2 separate regions of the Homo sapiens genome follow, and region 1 is linked to region 2. The links are contacts of gene promoters, found by promoter capture Hi-C in human tissues and cell types (Jung and others, 2019). All regions are on one chromosome and are shown on one strand. The core of a region is centred on a gene start or on the middle of the fragment in contact, and the rest is flanking DNA. Distances in the headings are between cores, read along the strand shown.

Evidence for each region. The method cuts DNA at HindIII sites, captures the fragments that hold promoters and counts their contacts. A contact is called where the count stands out against the background at its distance.
Region 1: a contact is called between a fragment that was not itself captured here and the fragment with the promoter of GTPBP1 in region 2, in 1 of the 25 tissues and cell types used here (dorsolateral prefrontal cortex).

What each region holds. Positions count from the first base shown.
Region 1 is chr22:40,172,862-40,177,685 of GRCh38, forward strand. It overlaps a transcript of TNRC6B not described here. Among named protein-coding and RNA genes, the nearest start is that of TNRC6B, 2.7 kb to the right of the region's middle. The HindIII fragment of the contact is 5,621 bases long and covers 1-4,824 here.
Region 2 is chr22:38,704,694-38,709,788 of GRCh38, forward strand. GTPBP1 (GTP binding protein 1) reads left to right here and starts at 1,251. Exons shown (of 12, transcript NM_004286.5): 1 at 1,251-1,454; 2 at 4,152-4,263. The coding sequence starts at 1,263. RefSeq lists enhancers at 9-694, 695-1,380, 930-1,079, 1,381-2,066 and silencers at 700-849, 1,170-1,579, 1,760-1,899. The HindIII fragment of the contact is 4,768 bases long and covers 1-2,272 here.

The DNA of each region.
Region 1 (4,824 bases), core at 855-3,354, 1.5 Mb after region 2:
CCTAATTTTTCTTGAGTTGATTTTGGTAACTTCTGTTTTCTTTGACTATCATCCATCTTATTTAATCTTCAAGTTTATTTATGTAAAGTTACATATAATTCTAGCATGAGTTAAAAGATTTTCTCTAAATCTGCAGTTATGATATCCTCTTTCTCAGCCCTAATGTTTGTGACTTCTCTCTTTCAATTGATCAGATTTTTGACAGAATTATCTACATTTATTTAGTGTTTTAAAACAAAATATAGTTTTTGGTTTTGTTTTTTGGTTTTTTTTTGAGATGGAGTCTCGCTCTACTGGTGATCTCCGCTCACTGCAACCTCCACCTCGCGGATTCAAGCAATTCTCCTGCCTCAGGTTCCCGAGTAGCTGGGACTACAGGTGCGTGCCACCACGCCCGGCTAATTTTTGTATTTGTAGTAGAGACGGGGTTTCACCATGTTGACCAGGATGGTCTTGATCACTTGACCTCGTGATCCACCCTCGGCCTCCCAAAGTACTGGAATTACAGGTGTGAGCCATCACGCCTGGCCTAGTTTTTGTTTTTATTAATTCAGTTTACTCTTTTTTTTTTTTTTTGGCTGTTACTTTATATCTGTGCCAAAAACAACAAAACAGATATATATATAATCTGTCACCAAGGCTGGAGTACAGTGGCGTGATCTCAGCTCAGCCTCCGGAGTAGCTAGGACCACAGGCATACCCCACCAAGCCTGGCTGACTTTTTTTATTTTTTTGTAGAGGCGAGATCTCACTATGTTTGTTGCCCAGTCTCAAACTCTTGGGCTCAAGTAAACCTCTAACTTTGGCCTCCCAAAGTGCTGGGATTACAGGCATGAGTCAACACCATGGCCAGCCTTGCTTTTATATTTATTCATTTTTGGGGTTTATTAACTCTTTTTCTAGATTTTTGAACATATATATATATATATATATTTTTTTTTTTTTTTTTTTTTTTTTTTTGAGACAGAATCTCATTCTGTTGTCCAGGCTGGGGTGCAGTGGCATGATCTTAGCTCACTGCAACCACCATCTCCCAGGTTCAAGTAATTGTCCTGCCTTAGCCTCCCAAGTAGCTGGGATTACCAGCAGGTACCACCATGCCCAGCTAAATTTTGTATTTTGAGTTGGGTTTTCACCATGTTGGCCAGGCTGGTCTTGAACTCCTGACCTCAGGTGATCTGCCTGGCTCAGTCTCCCAGAGTGCTGTGATTACAGGCGTGAGCCACCACGCCCAGCCTTTTTCTAGATTTTTGAGTTAAATACTCAGTTCAGTTATTTTTCAATCTTGTTTTCTTCTTTTTCTTTTTCTTTTTTTTTTTAGAGACAGAGTTTTGCTCTATTGCCCCAGCTGGAGGGTAGTGGCACGACCTTGCTCACTGCAGCTCACTGCAACCTGCAGCCTCCACCTTCTGGCTTCAAGTGATTCTTGAGCCTCAGCCTGCTGAGTAGTTGGGACTACAGGCGTGTGCCACCATGCCCAGCTAATTTTTGTTATTTTTAGTAGAAACGGGATTTTGCCATGTTGGCCAAGCTGGTCTCGAACTCCTGGCCTCAAGTGATCCACCCACCTCGGCGTCCCAAAGTGCTGGGATTACAGGTATAAGCCACCATGCCTGGCCAATCATGTTTTCTGATAAAAATATTTTGAGGAATGGTATGTAACCTCCAAAGGTGCCAGCTTTGAAAGATAACAGTCATTTGAATGTTCTTGTTTTTAGTTTTAGAAAATAATTTTTATGGCTGAGGCCGGCAGATCACGAGGTGATCACGAGGTGATTTAGTGAAACCCCGTCTCTACTACAAATACAAAAAAATTAGCCGAGCGTGGTGGCAGGCACCTATAGTCCCAGCTATTCGGGAGGCTGAGGCAGGAGAATGGCGTGAACCCGGGAGGCGGAGCTTGCAGTAAGCCGAGATAGCACCACTGCACTCTAGCCTGGGCGACAAAGCGAGACTCCATCTCAAAAAAAAAAAAAAAAATTTATTTCTTTGTGTCCTTACCTTACAATAATATAATTTTAAAATATTGTCTAATTGTTAATATGAAAAAAGTATAATAAATCTATCACAGAATCTATTATGTCTGGAAACACAAGGGAGAAATAATGTATTTATTGCACTTGTTTGTTTTAGATAAACGATTAGACTAATTGTATTAAATTTAGAGGTATTGCATAGAAAAGATGATGTGGAGGTTAAGGAAAAAATATTCAGTGGCCGGGCGCAGTGCCTCATGCCTGTAATCTCAGCACTTTGGGAGGCTGACGTGGGCAGATCACGAGGTCAGGAGTTCGAGACCAGCCTGGCCAACATGGTGAAACCCTGTCTCTATTAAAAATACAAAAATTATCTGGGCATGGTGGCATGTGTCTGTAATCCCAGCTACTCAGGAGGCTGAGACAGGAGAATCGCTTGAACCCAGGAGGTGGAGGTTCCTGTGAGCCGATACCATGCCACTGCACTCCAGCCTGGGTGACAGAGCAAGACTCTGTCTCAAAATATATATATATATGTTTTCAGCATATTATTTGAAATTAGAACCAATATTTTATTTAAAATATGTTTGTTCTGTTTCCAAACTTTTCATGCAGTTTGCTATTTAACACTTACAAGGCAACACATATAAATATTTGTATACAATAATATTCTACACTGGGGAATGGAGACTTAGCAAAGTTCAGTTTCATAAAGAAAGCATGTCCATCACAAATTAAAACAAGGTGGATGTTCAGTCTCCACACATTTTTACAAATCGAGCCAGCTACAAGCAAGTAGGCTTTCAGTAACTCATCTGGAAGGTATTGGAAGGATAAAAATAGACTAAATAATCAGAATTTCCATTCTAGTAGTTTCCTGCTTTTTCCTGCATCTCAATTGTCAGTGCAGGGCCTGGCTATTTCACTCAGTGCTAGGCAAAGACAGTGGAAGCTTGTTAAGCCACAGCTATTCAGGCTACCAGATTGTCCAGGCATTGGCCTTTGCCTGCCATGAAACAGCTCCTTTCCTGTCGTCATATCTGAGTGGAAAGAGCAAAGGCGGGAGACTGTATAAAGACCCAGAAGCCAGGATGACAACAAGTGTTGTGGGATTTTACAAGCATTCGTAGGTTCCTTTTCAAGGAAAGCCGGGTTTCTAGAATCCATCAGTTGTCTGCTGGCTGGCATGGCAGCCTAGTTTATGGGAGAAGCACACTAGGGAATCCTCCCTTTTCTGGCTTATAGAGATAGGTGGAGTCGATAGTCACAGGGCATTCTCATGCACTTTTTTTTTTTTTTTTTTTGAGATGGAGTTTCACTCTTGCTGCCCAGTCTGGAGTGCAATGGCGCGATCTCGGCTCACCACAACCTCCGCCTCCCGGGTTCAAGCGATTCTCCTGCTAAGCTCAGCCTCCCTAGTAGCTGGGATTACAGGCATGTGCCACCACGCTGGCTAATTTTGTATTTTTAGTAGAGACGGGGTTTCTCCATGCTGGTCAGGCTGGTCTCGAACTCCCGACCTCAGGTGATCTGCCTGCCTCGGCCTCCCAAAGTGCTGGGATTACAGGTATGAGCCACCGCACCCGGCCTCATGCGCTTTTTACCATTTTAGTTACTTTCTTTCCTGAAGCCGTCCTTAAAACATAGATGAATGCGAGTTTCTGGGAACTATGTGACCCTCATTCCCCTACATTTTTTATATTCAGGTGGCAGATTTCCTCCTACTCAGCCCAGCCCTTCTGAATAGGGTCCAAGTCATTGATTTATTCATTTATTTACCTCCTATGTGGTGTTTGGTGTGGAGCCTCACAGAGCAGTGAAGACGTGGTGTTTTTCCTTATACAGTTTACAGTCTCCTGGGGAAGACTAATGTTAAGCACATTCTTTCATAAATTGCAATTATGACCATTGCTCTGAAGAAGTAGTAAAGGATATTATGGGAGTGTTAACAGGAGGGCCTGGTCTGGACTGCGAGGGTCAAGAAGCCTTCCCAGGGTGGAGGCGAACTTTTGAGATGGCCAGGAAAAGATGAACAGAACTACTCAAAGAAGCCAAGTGCAGAGTTTCAGAGGTGAAAGAAACCAAAGATACCATCTAGGGAAGCCCAATCTCCGCCGGCTACCAATGAGAAAACGGAGGCCAGGCAGGGTGGGAGGATGGGTAAGGGACTTACTTACTTGCTGTTAGCAGTGAAGTTACACGGCCTGTGAGCCGCGGGGGCTGGAGATGCAAACCGAGCTTGGGTTTCTTAAGTGGGTAGGAGTGGAGATGTATATGCGAAGGAGAAGGGATTAGGAGTGGTGGAAACCAGGTAGGTTTTAATTTAGTGCCTAGGCTCCCTCAGCTGCAGAGCTACCTCCTGCGGTGGGGGAGGGGATTAAAGATGACTCAGACCTGCCCTAGCCCAGAGAAACTCCGTTTGCAGTGCTGAAGCATAGTTTTTATTTGGGTTTGGGGGAGGAGGTACTGAACACACATACAGGCAAAACAATAAGTGTAGAGTTCAGAATTGGGAAACCAGTCCCTCTTCTGCAGCTGTTCAGCTGTGTGATTTGGGATAAGTCACTTAACCTTTCTGAATTGCAGTTCAGTTTATACTTTTGTGCGTTTCTTTCAGTCTTTTTCTATACATTTTAGGAGTTTCTTAGAGATCAGTCGTGCCCTGTATTTCACCTCATTCTTTCAAAGCTAAAGCCTCTTGTTTGGTAGAGCTGTGTTTCAGCCCCTTTTACAGAGCAGTTTGCCAGCCTGTGCTTGCCCAAACATCTAGAGAATAACTAGCAAGCGAGCCAGGAGAAGATCCAGGAGCTGTAAGAATCGTTAGCAACTGAGCATATTTCTATAAACC
Region 2 (5,095 bases), core at 1-2,500:
GATTCCCAGCTGTGTTTGTGCAAATAAGACTTGATAGTAGTGGAAAACAGGGACAAGAAGAGACTGTCTCTTTCTTCTCAGGTAGATCCCCAAAACTGAAAGCCATTTTCAATCCTGCCACTTGCTCACTAAAGATTTAGGGTTTAGGTCCAAACCCTAAGTCTTGGATTCCTTATCTTCTCAAACATGCTCTTGTTTGCTTGATGCCTGGTTCGAGTGGCCAAGGCCGACATTCATAGACGTTGGTTAATCCCTAATTTCGCCAAACAATGACGGCCTAGGCTTTTCCGGCTTTTGAAACAGGAATTCAAGACACTAAAACGTGTGTTGATGGCATTTTGGGTTGGGGCTTTTCACAACTGATGACACTGGAAAAATAATCCATAGGAAACTACCTTATGAGACCCTAGATTTCGGTTTAGCAGTTCACCACAAAAGTGGTGAGGTGTTTTTTGGCTTTTAATTTTAGCTGCTTGCCTCTGTTTTTAGTTCGTGTGATTGCCTCCGCAAAGGCAGTGAATGGAGAATTCTCCCTAAGGTCAGCATTTAATTATTGCCTCACTCTGGCTGCTATAGTATTACAACTCTTGGAACTTACAGCATCGATCCTACTATTAAAGTTGCCTGGAGCATGCCAGCACGTTGGACATCGGCGTTCCAGCAACTGCCTCAGTCACTGAATCGAGTGGGAGGCTCATTTTGCAGTTTACTATCTCCATGAGCAGGTCCAGGCGCGGGACCTGTTCTATGACTCGATTGGGTCCTGCCCTTGTCCGTCATCGGAAGGCTTACAGCGCCTACTGTTTTGCAGTAAGATTTGCAGGCTTAGTACCGCCTCTGGAAACAAGGAGAGTGAAGGGGCGTTGACGAGTAACGTTGTTTGTATTTCTCTCCTCATTGGATGGCTGCTGTGTCAGTCAGACACTTCTCTGCTTCCGTTGGCGGGAAGGCTTCAGGCGGGTAGCGGGGACTCGGTACTGCCCCCTCCCAAGCTGGGAGCAGGGCGCGTGACGTCTCAGACATTTGTTGTTGGGATTTGGGCCTCATTAATTATTCATTAGGTACTTGAAAGCTCTGCAGGGATTGGTGGCTGAGAGGCCTAGTCGACTGTTTCTTAGCTAGAGGTACGTGTCACCCAGTACGCGGCTGGAGTTTTGCATAAATTATTCCGATAAGGAGCGGGGCGGGGCTCTGTGCATAGATTAGTCAAATGAGCCTGGGAGGGAGGGAAGCCGGCTACGAATTAGCCTAAGTTATTAAAGATGGCGACGGAGCGCAGTCGCTCCGCGATGGACTCGCCGGTCCCGGCCTCTATGTTCGCCCCCGAGCCCAGCTCCCCGGGGGCGGCCAGGGCCGCGGCGGCCGCCGCCCGACTCCACGGCGGCTTTGACTCGGACTGCAGCGAGGACGGCGAGGCGCTCAACGGCGAGCCAGAGCTGGACCTCACCAGCAAGGTAGGCCCGGGCGGCGGCGGCGGGCGCTGAGGGGAGCGGGCGGCTGGCCGAGCAGTCTCCCGGGCGACGGCGGGGCCAGCGGCCGCCCTGTCCGCGGGGAGCGCGGAACGGGAAGAAGGGGCCGAGCCCGCCCACCTGCTAGTCTCCGGGACGTGCGGGGGTTCGCGGCGCGAGGGGCCGTCCCCATGGTCCCCGCACCCACCTTGGCTCCCCCGCGTCGCCAACCCAGCCTCCCGCCCTCCCGTCTCCCGCCGAGATCGTAACCCCTCGGCTCTGCCACGTGGAACGGGGGCGCCCGATGCCAGCTGCGCTCCGCGCGTTCCCTGTCCCCGCTCAGTGCCCCTCCCCGTTCTTCGGGTCCCCACTTGAGGGGATTCGGAGACCGAGAGTCTCCTCTCCCTGGACCGCGCGGGACAGCAGAGGGGCGAGGGGGCCCGGGCAGGGGGCCGAGACGCTCATGAAGACAGGTAGTCGGAGGCCAGGGCAGGGTGGCCGCCGCGTCTCTTCCCAGACTCGGGAAAGGAAACAGAAAGTAGTCGCTCAGCTGGGGAGGAGCATGTCCGAGAATGTCTACTTTTCGAGGCCACCCGAAACAAAATGGAAAGATGGTCAGGCTCCTTAGTCTCGCTATCCTGTGAGTGGAAGCTCATCTTGTATGAGTGGAGCAGTGAAGGACGTTTAAAACCGTGTTTTTTGAGCTGTCGAGAAGGTAGGCAGGAATTAAGGCCTCGCCAACGGCTTGACATTGTGAAGAATAGAAAAGTAAATACAAGATGTGACTGGTGTTTTGAAGGTGCTTAACGTTCCTTAGGGAAAGAATGCCAACTTGGGAGTCAGACAGGGCTGGGTTCCCTTTCCTGCCCTACCATCGAAAGGCTCTGTGACGTTGGGAAAGTTTCTTAACCTTTCAGTTCTCCAACCACCTCATCTTAAGAAAGTACAGATGGGTTGTAAAAATTAGAAATATTTAAGAAGACACCTAATAGTGCCTGATGCATACTAGAGACTCAGTAAATGTTTGAAGTGAACGAGATAGTTCCTAATTTCCTGTGCAGATTAAATAGCAGTGGGTGAAAGATAGAACACCAATACCACCACTTACATTTGTAGGATAGTTACGATAGACATTTTATCCAGCTTTGAAAATGTTTGTGACTTTTTATAGTTTATGGCGGCAAATTTGCATGAAACTTGGTCCTAAACTGGGGAGGAACTTTCCCTGCAACCTAAGCAAGTTATTTTCAACTGCTCTTTGCCATTGTAGTCTCAGGTGAGCACTTGGAAGCCAGCTAGCCTGTCAAAGTTGGTCCTGTCTTGTGCCTGTAAGGCCATAATGAGGATGGCCAAACTTAGAGAGAGGGATGGCCAGGACGATGTAAAAGACCCAGGAAACATCCAGGTTACAATTACAAGCTCTGATGAGTCAACTCAGGAAGTTACAAGATTATGGACCTGACTCAAGAGCAAACAAACTGGATGTCAACACATGGTCAAGGTGCTGAAGAAACATGATAGGAAATTGCAGGGCAGAGTTGCAAAGACGGTAGTACCTTCATTTCTTGACCAGCTCATTTAATATTCCTAGAAGTGTTATTTCATCACATAGCTGGGGAAGTCCTCCTTACAATTAAAAAAAATCATATGTATATTAATATCGATGATATCAAAAAGAAAAAGTGATGGTGTGGAGGGAGAGAAGGGTTGGGTTGAATAGATTGATTCCGGAGGAACAGATTAGAAGCGAAAGGTTCATGTCCTTACGATAGAAAATGTGGAGACCTAAGGCTCCGAGAGCTTCCAAAGGGAGAAACACTTAGTGAATAGTGGTGGCTAGTTTCATCCAACAAGGTTTTTCTGGGAATGATTGGGTGAAGAAAACCTTGTAGTTTCACATTTATTGAGCTGTGGACTAGATGCTTTACATGTTATTATATTTGCTCTTTACAGTGGCCTTAGGATGCAGGTAGTATTAGCTCCGTTTTATAGATTGAAAAACTGAAACTCAGAGTGGTTAAATTCTTTGTCCAAGGTCACACAGGAGTGGTTAGAGAATGGGGTCTGATTGCCAAATGGCTTACCCAAGTAAATGGTTGACACTTCAATGTTATTGGCAGACATTTGCAAAATGACGGTGCTAATACTCCTCGTAGTGGTAATGGTGATGGTGCTTTGTTGATGAAGATGAGTCTTGCAGGCAGTTTTCATTCCCAAATATTCAATATAGCTAAGACAAGATAGAACAGAATTCTTTTGTTATCCTGGAAGCCACTGGCCTGTGGGTGGAGGGCATGGAGGTATATGAGGTATATGTCTTGTGGGCTTCCAGATGCCAACTGCAGGTAGAAGACTTTGGCATGTAGATGGAAAGCACTGCGCTTTCTATCCACAGTGCCATATTCTCAGTCACTTGGGTCCTGCCCTTCCTGTTAAGCAGCAGGAGGCAGGCTGCTTGTGCCCTCTTTACCATGGGTTATGGCTCAGACATACACATTGTAGTATATTATTTGGCTCATATAAGGCCTGAGGCTCAAAGGCTACTTCAGGAGAAGCAGAGAGGGCATGAAGGGGCTGTGCAGCCTTTTTAGATGAGGGTGCTATGGGGTTCAGTCAGGATCTTTGGTTAGGCTATATTGATCAGCTTTGGCTGTGGTGCTCTTCTAGCAAGTGTGGTCCTAAGGCTGTTGGTTTCTTTTCTAGCTGGTTCTAGTGAGCCCTACATCAGAGCAGTATGACAGCCTACTTCGGCAGATGTGGGAGAGGATGGACGAGGGATGCGGAGAGACCATATATGTCATTGGGCAGGGATCAGGTGAGCATAGTTTTCCTTTCACTTTATTTTTAAAAATTATTGGGCCGGGTGCGGTGGCCCTGCCGCCTGTAATCCCAGCACTTTGGGAGGCCAAGACGGGTGGATCACCTGAGGTCAGGAGTTCGAGACCAGCCTGGCCAACATGGTGAAACCCCATCTCTACTAAAAATACAAAAAATTAGCCGGGCGCTAATTAGTGGTGGCAGGCGCCTGTAATCCCAGCTACTTGGGAGGCTGAGGCAGAAGAATTGCTTGAACCTGGGAGGCGGAGGTTGCAGTGAGCCAAGATCGTGCCATTGTGCTCCAGCCTAGGCGACAAGAGTGAAACTCTGTCTCAAAAAAAAAAAGAAATTATTTAGAGCACATTTTCCCCGCTTTTTGAACTTTTCTGCTTATGTGTCTCAGTTACAGTGATTCTTTAGTGTCTGCAGAACTGTTTGGAGTACATAAAAGTACAAAGTGAATGTTAATTCTGACCTTAGTGGCCATAATATGCTTGACTTTCCAAGCAGTTTTACAGATGCTTCCTTTTTACCTCCAGTACTCTCTATTTGCATAAGAGGAAATGAAGCACAAAGCAAAGGAACTTCTTGTCTAAGGTAATAGGGCAAGCCATAGTTAGGTCTAGAATTAAGCTTATTCCTGGGCAGCTGGAGGTCTTCCCTTCCAGGCCCTGTTTACAGATCCCATTGCGACTTATTTTCTGCTTAGCAGAGGACCTCCGTGATTCTTCTTGGTGTCAGCAGAGAAAAGATGCCCAGAATTCCTCTCTTGTCAGGCTCCTTGCCCCAGACCCTACTGACTATTTAGTCTGGATAGCTGGGATAACAGA